3 separate regions of the Homo sapiens genome follow, and all the other regions are linked to region 1. Evidence: promoter capture Hi-C in 16 types of primary human blood cells and fetal thymus (Javierre and others, 2016). All regions are on one chromosome and are shown on one strand. The core of a region is centred on a gene start or on the middle of the fragment in contact, and the rest is flanking DNA. Distances in the headings are between cores, read along the strand shown. Region 1 holds the start of DCHS1 (dachsous cadherin-related 1). Region 2 has its middle 16 kb from the start of SMPD1. Region 3 overlaps FHIP1B (FHF complex subunit HOOK interacting protein 1B).

What was found. Contacts are between HindIII fragments. The CHiCAGO score rates a contact against its expected background, and 5 or more counts as called.
Region 2: a fragment that was not itself captured here is called in contact with the fragment with the promoter of DCHS1 in region 1 in 9 of 17 cell types (non-activated CD4 T cells, total CD8 T cells, total CD4 T cells and 6 more); the score reaches 8.6 in non-activated CD4 T cells.
Region 3: a contact is called between a fragment that was not itself captured here and the fragment with the promoter of DCHS1 in region 1, in 1 of 17 cell types (fetal thymus). The highest score is 6.6, in fetal thymus.

What each region holds. Positions count from the first base shown.
Region 1 is chr11:6,653,509-6,657,274 of GRCh38, forward strand. DCHS1 (dachsous cadherin-related 1) reads right to left here and starts at 2,301. Exons shown (of 21, transcript NM_003737.4): 1 at 2,055-2,301. The HindIII fragment of the contact is 4,247 bases long and covers 1-3,766 here.
Region 2 is chr11:6,372,835-6,376,867 of GRCh38, forward strand. No RefSeq gene overlaps it. Among named protein-coding and RNA genes, the nearest start is that of SMPD1, 16 kb to the right of the region's middle. The HindIII fragment of the contact is 3,799 bases long and covers 1-3,290 here.
Region 3 is chr11:6,215,933-6,219,881 of GRCh38, forward strand. It overlaps FHIP1B (FHF complex subunit HOOK interacting protein 1B), which reads right to left. Exons shown (of 12, transcript NM_001098794.2): 7 at 3,039-3,118; 8 at 2,668-2,831; 9 at 1,439-2,218. Among named protein-coding and RNA genes, the nearest start is that of C11orf42, 12 kb to the left of the region's middle. The HindIII fragment of the contact is 4,493 bases long and covers 150-3,949 here.

The DNA of each region.
Region 1 (3,766 bases), core at 1,051-3,550:
AATGAATTAGCGTTTTGATTAATTAATCTACTGAAAACAATGGTGTGAGGGATGTGGGGTAATGAGTGTGAAGAAAATAGAAAAAAAATCATCTATTTATTTATGAAGGGCCCAGTTGAGGTTTGAATTTTTTAGAAGTATGAATTTATAGAAGCGTCCCCTGGTGTGGTTGAGAAATCATTCTAGTTAGGGGCAATAATTTGAGGGATGAGTATAGAAGACAAGGAAACACAGTGGCCAAGGAGTGGTTGAAGGGATGATCCTTAGCATATGAGCTGGAAAGAAAGCACAAAGTCAGAAAGGAACAGAGTAGGAGAAAACAAAGAGGTCAAGGGCAAGAGGTCATTATGAGGTCAAAGAGTGTAATGGGAGCGAGAACATCTGAAAGCTGGAAGGATATAGGAGGTTGTGGGTAGAGAGAGGAATGCAAGAGTTTAGAATTTTAAAGGTGGAATAGTTCTACAGAGTGGTCCTGGGAGGGAGGAAGGTAACAGGAGCTAAGGAGGTCAAGAATCTGTGAAGCTGTGGTGTTGAAGGACACTGAGAAACCATGGCAGGATACACTATCCAGATCTCGAAGTTTTCAGGGAACAAGAGGGTATACCTGGGAGATCTACGTATGAGAAGGGGTGAAGGTGTGAGCTTGATAAGTTAAGCAGAGTTTATTCAGAAGTTGGGACAGGTCTTCCTGTGGTGTGCATGCCATCCATGACTGTCTCCTGGGGGTTGTACAAGTGGCTGTGTGGTAAGGGCAACTGTGGCACAGCCTCCTGTTAGTGACAGGCTTCTAGGACACCCACTATGTATGGGCAGCTCCAAGGAAGTAAACCTAATAAGATGTGCTGTGACAGTTGTGACAGTGCTTCTGATGGATGTGGATTGCAGTGACAATGTCTCCTGAGAGGTGCTGGTCTACTTGTTTGTTGCTGGTGACAGTGTTTCTGGAGAGTGTTAGCAGTAACAATGTCTTCCATGGTATGTGTTGGCCTTGACAATGAACCGGTGGGAGTATGTTGGTTGCAGCATTTCTCCTGTGGGTGTGTGTTGTCATGAGAGCATTTTCCGTAGGTGTGTGTTGGCTTGATAGAGTCTGCTGTAGGTGTGTGTTGGTTCTGACTGGGGGTGCTTCCTGGGGGTGGGCTTCCTGGAAGTGTATGATGGCTGTGAGGGTATCTCTTGAGGATGTGTGTTCCCTGGGACTGTGTCCTCTTGTGGGTTGAGTAGGGCTATGACTGTGTCCCTATGGGTATTTGAGAAGTTGACATAAGCGACAATATTTTTCTGGCCTATGACCTTGTGGCTGTGGGCCCAGCCCGCCACACTGAGTTCATTGTGCTTCTAGACCTCCCTCTCCCCACCCCCTCCACGTGGGACCCACGCCTGCGGTGACCTTGCTCTGTCCCCTGCACGGGATTCTGAGCTGGGTATCCCAGACACAAACTCCCAGTTGCTCCAATCTCCCACTCAGAACACGTCTGGGTGACCCCCCCCTCCATCCACTTCAGGCTGTGCCTGCCTCTCCTCTGCTTCTCTGTACTTCTCCCCACTCAGTTTCTTTGTCTCTGTCTCAGTTGGTCTCTGTCACACACCCATCCTCCACATTCTGACACATGGGCTCCCACAGAGCGGGCAACACACCCTCACAGGGACTCGCTCACCATGACACACGGTCATTCTGACCCTCACACCCTCAGAGTGACACGCACATGCACACACAGCCAGAGAGACGCCCAGGGACACACAACCTCCCAGTGACACGCACTGACACACTCCGACGATGCACTGGAACACAACGCTGTCGCACCCCACACCCCCGGCGCACGCTCCCGCCGCCACCCTCCCCGACTCGATGACACACGCACACAAAGACCCCCAGGCCCTGCCCCCACGCTCACGTTCACGCCCGCCCGGGTCCCGCAGGCCCAGGCCCCCCCTCCCCCATTGTCTCCGGCTCAGAACAAAGCCCCCGGCTCCGCCGCCGCTGCCGCAGCCCAGGGGAGGCCGGCGGGCAGGGCGGGCGCGGCCAGACGGGCCGGGCGGGCGCGGGCACTGACCTCCGCGCGACGCGGGCTCCCTCGCCCGGTGCTGGGGCGCCGTCCGGCCGCGGTCAGCCCCCCGGGCAGCGCCCGCTCGCGCGGGGCCTGAGGCCGCGCATCGTCCGCAGTCGCTGTCTCCGAGGCCCGCGATCCCCTCCGGGCAGCCGCCGTCGGTCCGCGCGCCCTTGGCCGTCGATCGGTCCGTCCGCTGACGCCCGGGCGCCGCCTCCTGCACAGCCGCCCCGCCGAGGATGCGAGCTCCGCTGCCGCGGCCCCGCGCCCCCTCCCCTCCCCTCCCCCCGCCCTCCGCGCGGTAACCCGAGCCCCCGCCCCTCCGCCCGCGGAGCCCCCGCCCCCGCCCCCACCCGCGCTCCGCGCCGCCGCCCCCCCTTCCCCCCGGCGCCCGCCCGGCCTCCCTCCGCCCCTCCACTTCCCGGCCCCAGGCCCCGGCTCCGGATCCGGCCCCAGCGCCGCGCCGCGCCCCCGTCCCGGTTCCCTTCCCTTCTCCCCGTCACTTCTCCCGTCCTCTCCTCCCATTCGGTTCTCTACGCCCTCTCGTCTCTTCCCCTTCTCGCCGCTCCCTGCTGCTCACCTCCTCCTCTTCCATCTTCTTTCCATCCCCTATTCCCCTCTTCTCCCTCAGTGCCCTGGTCTCCCTCTCGCCCCTTCTTTTTCCCAACCGTCATCTCCATTCCCCTCTGCCTTTCTCCCATCCTCTTCTTCTCGCCCCATCTCCATCATTTTCTCCCCAGCTCTTCTCCCCTTTCTCTTCTCCTTACCCCTTCTGCTTGATCTCTCTCCAGCCTCTTTACATCAGATTCTCCTTCCCCACCTCTCCTTTTATCCTTTTCTTCCTATCCCTTTCTCCCCGTCTCTTCTCCCCACCTTTCTCCCCATCCCCTTCTCCCTGTGTCTTTCGCCTCACCTCATCATCCCCTTTTCCTCACGCCTTCTCCTCATTCCCTTTTCTCACCCCTGCCCTTTTCACTACCCGCTGTCTCTTCCCCTTCTTCCATCGTAACCTCGGCCTTCTCCCCTGTTAGTCACTTTTCATTATCCCATGATTTCTGTCTCTTTTCTCTCCTTCACCCCCAGGCTCCCTTTCCCCCACTTTCTCTTTATCCCAAATTTGAGGGTAGAGATCGGGAGATATTGGAAAGAAGAGCTTTGGGGATGGTGGTCCCACTCACGATATACTCCCTAGAAAAATTAAGTGAGGAGGAAACCGGGCAGGGAAGTGGGAAGGGGCTCAAAAAACCAACTTGGGAGAGAATATGGGGAGAGGGGAAATCAGACAGAGACAAAGAGCAAGCAATCTTAAAGGAACTGGGAAGAGTTCTGACTCCTGTCCTTCTTCCTTAGGACTGCGAGTAGACTGTGAGAAAAACAGGTTTTCTGGACTTGAGATGTGTACAAATGGCACAAAGAAATCAGGAACTTCTGTGGAGAAGGAACACAGTTTCAGCTGAAGAAGAAGGGAGTGTGATTTTGGAAGAGGAGTGAGGGAGAGACTGGGGTCCTTGATCATATCCACGGCGCTTGGGCAGCTGGGTGGATGGATGGTGGTGAGGCTGGCTGTGCTCCACAAAAGGAGCAGCAGGAGGCTGCAGGGGGTTCGTATGAGGAGATGATGACTGTGACTTGGGGCTGCTGACTTTGAAGTGCTGGTTGGGTAGGTAGGTCTGCAACTTAGAGGAGCGGTCTGGGATGGACATAAATATTTGGGAGTC
Region 2 (4,033 bases), core at 141-2,640, 280 kb before region 1:
TGTATCCCCATCACTAATGTATCCCCCAATACCTGAACAGTGCCTGGCACACTGTAGATCTCTATACTAATTTGTTGAATTAATTAATTTTCATCAGGGGAATGAAACAATCTGATATACAATTTCAAAAGAGAGGAGTGGGCTATGGGAAATCGACTTGGGGGCAATGGTGAAATCAGGGAAAACCAGTTAGGATAACTTGTAGCAATCTAAGATAGAGATGGTAGTAACTTAGGCTAAGACAGTAGCTACAGAGGTGATCAGAGGTAAGACTTAGGTTGGGTTTTAGAGGAGAAATAGACATGACTTGATAATTAATAAAATGTAGAGGTAAAGGGAGATGAAGTGTCAAAGATGACTCCAAGAGCTGGGCACAGTGGTGTATGCCTGTAGTCCTAGCTACACAGGAGGCTGAGGCAGGTGGATCCCTTGTGCCCAGGAGTTTGAGACCAGCCTGGGAAAGACAGCAAGACCCTATCTTTAAAAAAAAAAAAAAAATTGTTTAAAGAAAAAGAATTTAAAAATTTTAAAAAATTGTTTTAATGACTCCAAGTGTCCGGTATGCTGAGGTGCCCATCCCTAGATAGGAAAGACTGGAGCAGTGTCAAAATCAGAATGAAAGATCAAAAGCTCCATTTTGGACATAGTTAAGTTAGAGATGTCTGAGCTCAGAAGCTCATCAACATATTAAAAGTATCTGAGGCTGGGAGTGGCTATGATCATCTGGCCCTAAGGAGACGTAAAGATGCCAGGTTCTGTATTAAGTTGATCAAAAGATCCTCAAATATGCAGCAAATATTCCTTGTCACTTTATGGACAACTGGATTCCTCTTAAGTTTTTTCTCTTGGTCAAAAGTGAATTGCAGCTGGGTGTGGTAGCTCACATCTGTAATCCCAGCACCTTAGGAGGCCAAGGCAGGCAGATCATTTGAACTCAGAAGTTCAAGACCAGCCTGGGCAATGTGGTGAAGCCCTGTTTCTATAAAAAAAAACACAAAAATTATCTGGGCATGGTGGCGCATGCCTGTAATCCCAGCTACATGGGAGGCTGAGGAGGGAGGATGGCTTGAGCCTGGGTGGTAGAGGTTGCAGTGAGCCAAGATGGTGCCACTGCACTCCAGCCTGGGCAACAGAGAGCCAGACCCTGTCTCAAAAAACAATAATAATAATTTAAAATTAAAAAAAAAAGTCAATCCCTGGCCAGGCATGGTGGCTCAAGCCTGTAAACCCAGCACCTTGGGAGGCCAAGGCAGGTGGATCACCTGAGGTTGGGAGTTCGAGACCAGCCTGACCAACATGGAGAAACCCCGTCTCTACTAAAAATACAAAATTAGCCAGGCACAGTGGTGCATGCCTGTAATCCCCAGCTACTCGGGAGGCTGAGGCAGGAGAATCGCTTGAACCCAGGAGGCAGAGGTTGCGGTGAGCCGAGATCCTGCCACTGTACTCCAGCCTGGGCAATTAGAGCATAACTCCATCTCAAAAAAAAAAAAAAAAGTTAATTCCCACATTCCAGTATGGCCGTTAGACCTTTCAAACAGGGCTTCTGCCCAGCCCCACCTCTGAGCGGATCCCTGCTCTGGAGTGACTTCTGCAACATTTTCTAAGTCTCTGATGCTTGGAACCAGCTGGGGCCAGCAGGGCTTCCCAGTGAGACACCTCAAGTCCGAATGAAGATCCATGTGAGCCACAATTTCTATTTCTTTTCTTCAGAAGAAGAAAGCACAGTCAGCCGAACGCTGTGGCTCATGCCTGTAATCCTAGCACTTTGGGAGGCCAAGGTGGGCGAATTGCCTGAGCTTAGGCATTCAAGAACAGCCTGGGCAACATGGCAAAACCCCATCTCTACTAAAAATACAAAAATTAGTAGGACATGGTAGCCCATGCCCATAGTCCCAGCTACTTGGGAGGCTGAGACAAGGGAATCACTTGAACCTGGGAACCTGAGGTTGCAGTGAGCCGAGATCATGCCACCACACTCCAGCCTGGGTGAGAAAGTGAGACCCTGTCTCAATTAAAAAAAAAAAAAAAAGAAGAAGAAGAAGAAGTAGAAGAAGAAAGCACAGGATTTTTCTCTTGGAGCATAGAAGGTCTTTCTAGGTATGACATAACACATAACCCATAAAAGGAAAGGTCAAGATTTTGACAATATAAAATAAAAATTCCACATTACAAAACCCACCATAAGCAAAATGCAAAAGACAGAAAATCAAACTGGAAAAAAATTAACACTCTCATTAGTGACAAATTTATCTTGTTGAAAGAAAAACTTCAGCCAAATTAAATTTAAAAGAGTTTAATTGAGCAATGAACGATTCATGAATCAGGCAGCCCCTAGAATCACAGCAGATTCAGAGAGACTCCAGCGGTTCCTCATGGTCAGAACAGATTTATAAATAAAAAAAGTAAAGTAATATACAAAAACCAGAAGTCGGCTCACGTAGTGAGCTCACTGCCTGTAATCCCAGCACTTTGGGAGGCCAAGGCGGTCGGATCACGAGGTCAGGAGATCGAGACCATCCCGACTAACACGGTGAAACCCCGTCTCTACTAAAAATACAAAAAATTAGCCGGGCATGGTGGCGGGCACCTTTAGTCCCAGCTACTCGGGAGGCTGAGGCAGGAGAATGGCATGAACCTGGGTGGTAGAGTTTGCAGTGAGCCAAGATCGCGCCACTGCACTCCAGCCTGGGGAACAGACTGAGACTCTGTCTCAAAAAAAAAAAAAAAAAAAAAGTGAGGTACAGAAACAGCTGGATGGGTTACAGGTTGGCCTTTGCCTTATTTGAACACAGTTTGAACACTCAGCAGTCTGTGAGTGGTTGAAGTATGGCTGCTGGGATTGGCCAAGACACAGCTATCATTACAGGTGTATAGTCTTAAATTAGGTTTTCAATCTTGTCTGCCTATTAAGCTATGTTACGATTTGTCTACAAGGACTCAAATATAGAAGTATGGAGTCCTTCTCAGGCCATATTTAGTTTGCTTTAACAATCTAAAAGCTAAGACTGAGGTGTCGGAGAAGCCAAGAGAAGAAAGTGTCAAAGATAATGAGAACAATCAAATGCATCCCATTCTGCTGAGAGGTCGAGAAGACAGAGACTGAAAAGGGCCCCTTAGATATGTTTATGTGGAGGTCACGAGGTGCCTTAGCCATTTTAATAGATTCGTGGTGGTCAAAATGCAAGGAAATGGGAATAGCATGTGCAGGACGTTCTTTTGAGATATGTTCTGTTAAACAGAGCAGAGAAACACCGATAGTGAAGGATACTGGGTTAGGTCTAGAAAGAAGCTTGCATTTGTTTTGTGTTGATTTACCTCATTTTGACTTTTAAAGATAGAATCTTGATTGGATTTTCAAATTGAGCAGGAGAGGTTGAAAATGTCAGAAAGAAAGAGTATGGCTAAGACTGTCTTTGTCCTCTAATAGCCATTCTCCCATCTTCTATGGTAGTACAGTCTGTGAATTTCAGCAGAGTAAATGACCTCCTGGAACAAAAATGACATTTCTTCACCTCCCTTGCAGTAGAATAATGTGTTCAAGTTCTAGCCATGGAAATAAGGGTAAAAATGTCTTGTGCAACTTCTAGGAAGTGTCCTTAAAGGGAAGGGCTCTGTTCTTTTTCCTGCTGGCAAGAGTGTAGAGATGATGGCTGGAGCATGAGCCACAAGGTGAAAGCCACATTTTGGGGATGGTGAGCAAGATCAAAGCAGCCTGGTTTCCTGCTCATCATATCGTTGTCATGCAAGTCCTGGATGGGCTATGTCTATGTGAGGGAGGAATAAATGCCGACCTCCTTTAAAGCTGCTGTTATTTTCAGTTTTTTGTCACTGATGACATAACTTAATATTAACTAGGAGAGGGCCAGGTGAGGTGGCTCACGCCTGTAATCTCAGCACTTTGGGAGGCCGAGGCAGGTGGATCACCTGAGGTCAGGAGTTTGAGACCAGTCTGGCCAATATGGTGAAACCCCATCTCTACTAAAAATACAAAAATCAGCCAGGCGTAGTGGTGCGTGCCTGTAGTCCCAGC
Region 3 (3,949 bases), core at 1,146-3,645, 440 kb before region 1:
ATGTCTAGCATTAGCTTCAAAACAACTCTAGCTTAACAGAGTCCTAAGACGCCCCATAATTTTGTCCTGTTCCTTTCATTTCCTGGAAGTTTCTTGGAAAAAAAAAATTGAAAAGCTCAGATAAGTTTACCAAAGGAAAAAAAGACAAAAGCTTCAATTAATACTTCAAGACTGTGGTAAAACCTGCACGCTATCACCTAGTGGTACTGAGCTGAAAGGAACAGAGCAGAGGCTAAATAAATGGAAAGATAGATTTTCTGTAGGAGGCAAGAAGAGGGAATTGGCACAACTCCATGGCAGAAGCCCTGGTGCTGTATGAGCAGGATGGCCAGCATCTCCCAGGCCCAGTCAGGACATGAACTTATCAAGGCATGACAATCTGACTATGAACAACTGGAAGATGAGTGTTTGCCTTAGTCAACTTAAATCTGCTATGTACCCAGAGATCCTAGTGAAAAGCTACCACTTGCTGAGTTCTCACAATGTGCCATAATTGTAGTAAATGATTTATATGCATCTATGGCAGAGATGGGAGGCTAATGTAAGGTATGCCTAATCCAAGGCCTGTGATCTTAGCCTTAGCTACTACTTCTCAGAGGTGGGTTTGTTTTTTGTTTGGTTGGTTTTTTTGTTTTTTGGTTTTCCTGGCCTGAGGTTTAGAATGGCGGGGTAAGCTGGCTCTCATACAAAAACAAAGAGGAGTTAGTCCAACCACTCAGATCGAGTCTAGCTCCAGGGCATCCTTGAGAGTCCAAATGAACTCAGTCAGGGAGCTCAGGGCCACGCTTTGTCATTTGCCTTCAAAGAAATTGCACTCTATCTGCTTAAGACAGTCTTAGTGCTAGCAGACAGTCACAGCAACCAAGAAGGTACAAGGAAAGCGAACAGGAAAAACTTGAAATCAAGTCCTTCTTTGAAGAGGTGGGGAGGAAGGAGCTGAGTAGGGAGAAAAATACCAGAAGGTTAACCTTAGGCCCCAGGAGAGCTGACAGAAAACCCAAGACCCAGACAGATAAACTGGACGGAATGGCATAGAGAGTGTTTAGGTGCCTCTCCATACAGGACAGCACATACGTCTTCAATATGGTTCAGAAATATTGCTGTGATTCACCAGGAAACATCAAACACAGAATATCCTAATTACAAATCGCAGGAAATGGCCAGACTAGGGAAAGAGGAGGAACATGCACATAGGACATACATACAAGGCTCAGATGTAAGTCAATACTCAAACCAGCACAAGCATGGAAGACGTACAGACAGACACAGGGACACAAGTATGACATGACACGTATCTGGAAGTGATGCAAGCAGGATGGATGAGGGGCTAGGCAAGTACACAGAAATGACATGGCCAAGAGGTCCAAGAAACCAGCACAAACATGTCGAGAACATGCAAAGAGTACACAGAAGGGAAGGCCTAGGCTAAGTAGCTTACCAGTGAAGGGCTGGCTTGGCAGCTGGTTGAGAGTCCGCAAAGGGCTGCTGAGGAAGGGGCCAGGGGGCTCAGGGGGACAGGTGAAGCTCTCGTAGGCCTCCTCCTCCTCAAGGGGCAGTGGAGGTTCTAAGGGGGACTCTGAGCCAGTTCCCCCATTGCTCAATGCCACCTCTAGCTCCCGGAGCTCCTGCCCAAAGCCCTCTAGTCCTGCCATGCCCTCGGAGATGCCCTCTAGCAGTTCCCCAGCTCCCTCCTTTGGCACCAGACGAACCTTCTTGGCCCCCTCAGGCCATGATCCTGGCACTCCATTGAGCTGGGGAGGGGGCAGGTGACCAGGGCCCTCCCCTGCACCCCCAGCCCGCCCCCTCCTCCCCAGCTCTTCCTCCTCCCCTTCCCCCACGTTGTTCCTGTCCTCCTCAGGCAGTAGGCTGCGTTTCTTAGTCCGGGAGCCAAAAGGACTGGGCTCAGGAGAGGGCCGCTCGCCATCATAGGGGGCAGACCAGGTACGGCAGGCTCGGACACAGCGGTCCACACCACGACGTGCCTCACGCAGATACTCCAGGTAATTGTCTTCCAGCTCTCCAGGCTCCTCTGCAGGGGTAGGCCGTCGGCCAGGGCTGGAGGCGGGGGATGCAGAAAGCCCTGGTGAGCAAGGGGCTGGGCCTGGAGACTCAGAGCCACCCAGGCTCTGCTGCCGCAGGAAGAGAGCCAGACGAGATGGTGTGGAGGGCCGGGGTACTGTCGTCACAGAAGAGGAGTCCACACTTGGGCTTCCAGGACCTGCAAAGGGAAAAAATATAAGAGAAATCAAGGAGACAGAGGTTCAGAAGGAGAGATAAGACACCTCGGGAGACTAAGAAAGAAGACAATGGGGAGGCAGAAACATGGAATCTATTCAGACAGCTAACTCTCCAACCTCCTAATTAACCTTATCCTCATCCACCACCCCCACTCACCACCATCACCACTGAAGACACAATGGAAACAGGAAGAGTACACGACTAGAGAGAAGAACAAGAATAGCTTTGCCCAGAAGTCCCACTCTAATTTTCTTTGGTGAGTGTTAAGGGTCCTCCCTGCAAGACACCCTCATCAACCTCCCCAAAGACAGACTATCATTCATGGACACCTTCCTCCCCTTCACCCCAGCCCCTCCTTGCTACGCTCCCCCAGAACCTAGGCCATACCCGTGATGTCCTCCCTTCTCCCTGTCTCTCTGCTAGGCCCACCTCGTGCCCATGAGGCATGCTCTGGACGAGGTGGGCTGGGGGCGTGGTGCCGACAACAGCGTGGGATTAGGGAGAGAAACTTGTCAGCTGCTCGTCCATATAGGTCCACATCACGAACAGCCGGCTTCTGGCTCAGCATAACGTGGTTACATGGAACAAGATACCTGAGAAAGACATCAGAAAGGGGACACAGGGTAGATCAGGAAGGAAGGACAGGGCCTAGAGGAACATCAGGCCAATGAAACTGCATGGTTAAGCCAGGCTCCAAGTGGAAACTCATGAGTAACCCCTATATAGCCCATTGCCCCAGCAATGCATAAGACTCTGAGGCTTCAGGGTCAGCCATCCCTCAGCCCTGCCCCAACAGATACCTGAGAACCAGCTGCAGCAGGACATCCTCACAGCTGAGGTTCAGGAGGGTCCTGAAGAGACTCAGAGAGACCATGCAGAGCTGGGGGGGTGGAGGGGAGGGAGGGAGTCACCATAAGAGCTCTCTGCCCTCCAAGCCATTCACCAAACGGGAACCCCACCAGCCCCAAGTTGGCCCAACCAACCACTCCTAGAGGAACTCCTAGAGGACCATGTACCATGCCTGGCACATAAGTCATTCAAGTATTAGCTAGATGATCACACGATCTTTGCGAGCAAGACTTTGCTATTCATACAAATGAAGCATCTCAGACCCAATGGACTTCTATAGACTCTCTAGCTATATATACCTGGTCAGCAGAGACTCCAGCAACACTTGAACGAAAATCCATGAGAAGAGACTAAGAAATACTGTGATTGAGTGAATGACTAACAGGAGACAACAGAAACATGGTAATTAAGTGAATGCCTGCCAGAAGGGACTGTAGCAATACAGTAACTGAATGCCTACCAATAAGAAACTAGAGGGAACCGGGAAGATTCCCAACTGGGAAGTAGGTGGGGCTGCAAACATGAAGTCTGAGTCACCTCTCTAACACTAGTGTATCTCTCAGAAGGCAGGATAAAGAACAACTCAAGCGCAGCTGACAGGAAAAGGAAAAAGTAGGTGGGTCAAGATTAGAGGAAATCTTTTATTTTAGAAAAGGAAGAAGGTTGGTTCATCTCTGACTAGGTAAAGAAAACACATATGTAACCTTTCCCTCACTTCTCTGAATCTTCCTAGCACTTTCTCTATACTTCCCTTACAGCAAGTGTGTCAGACACCTTGAGCTCCCTGAAGACAACGAATGGGTCTTGGTCTAGGGCACTACCTGAACAGTTTAGGCATTCATTATTTGCTACATGACCACGG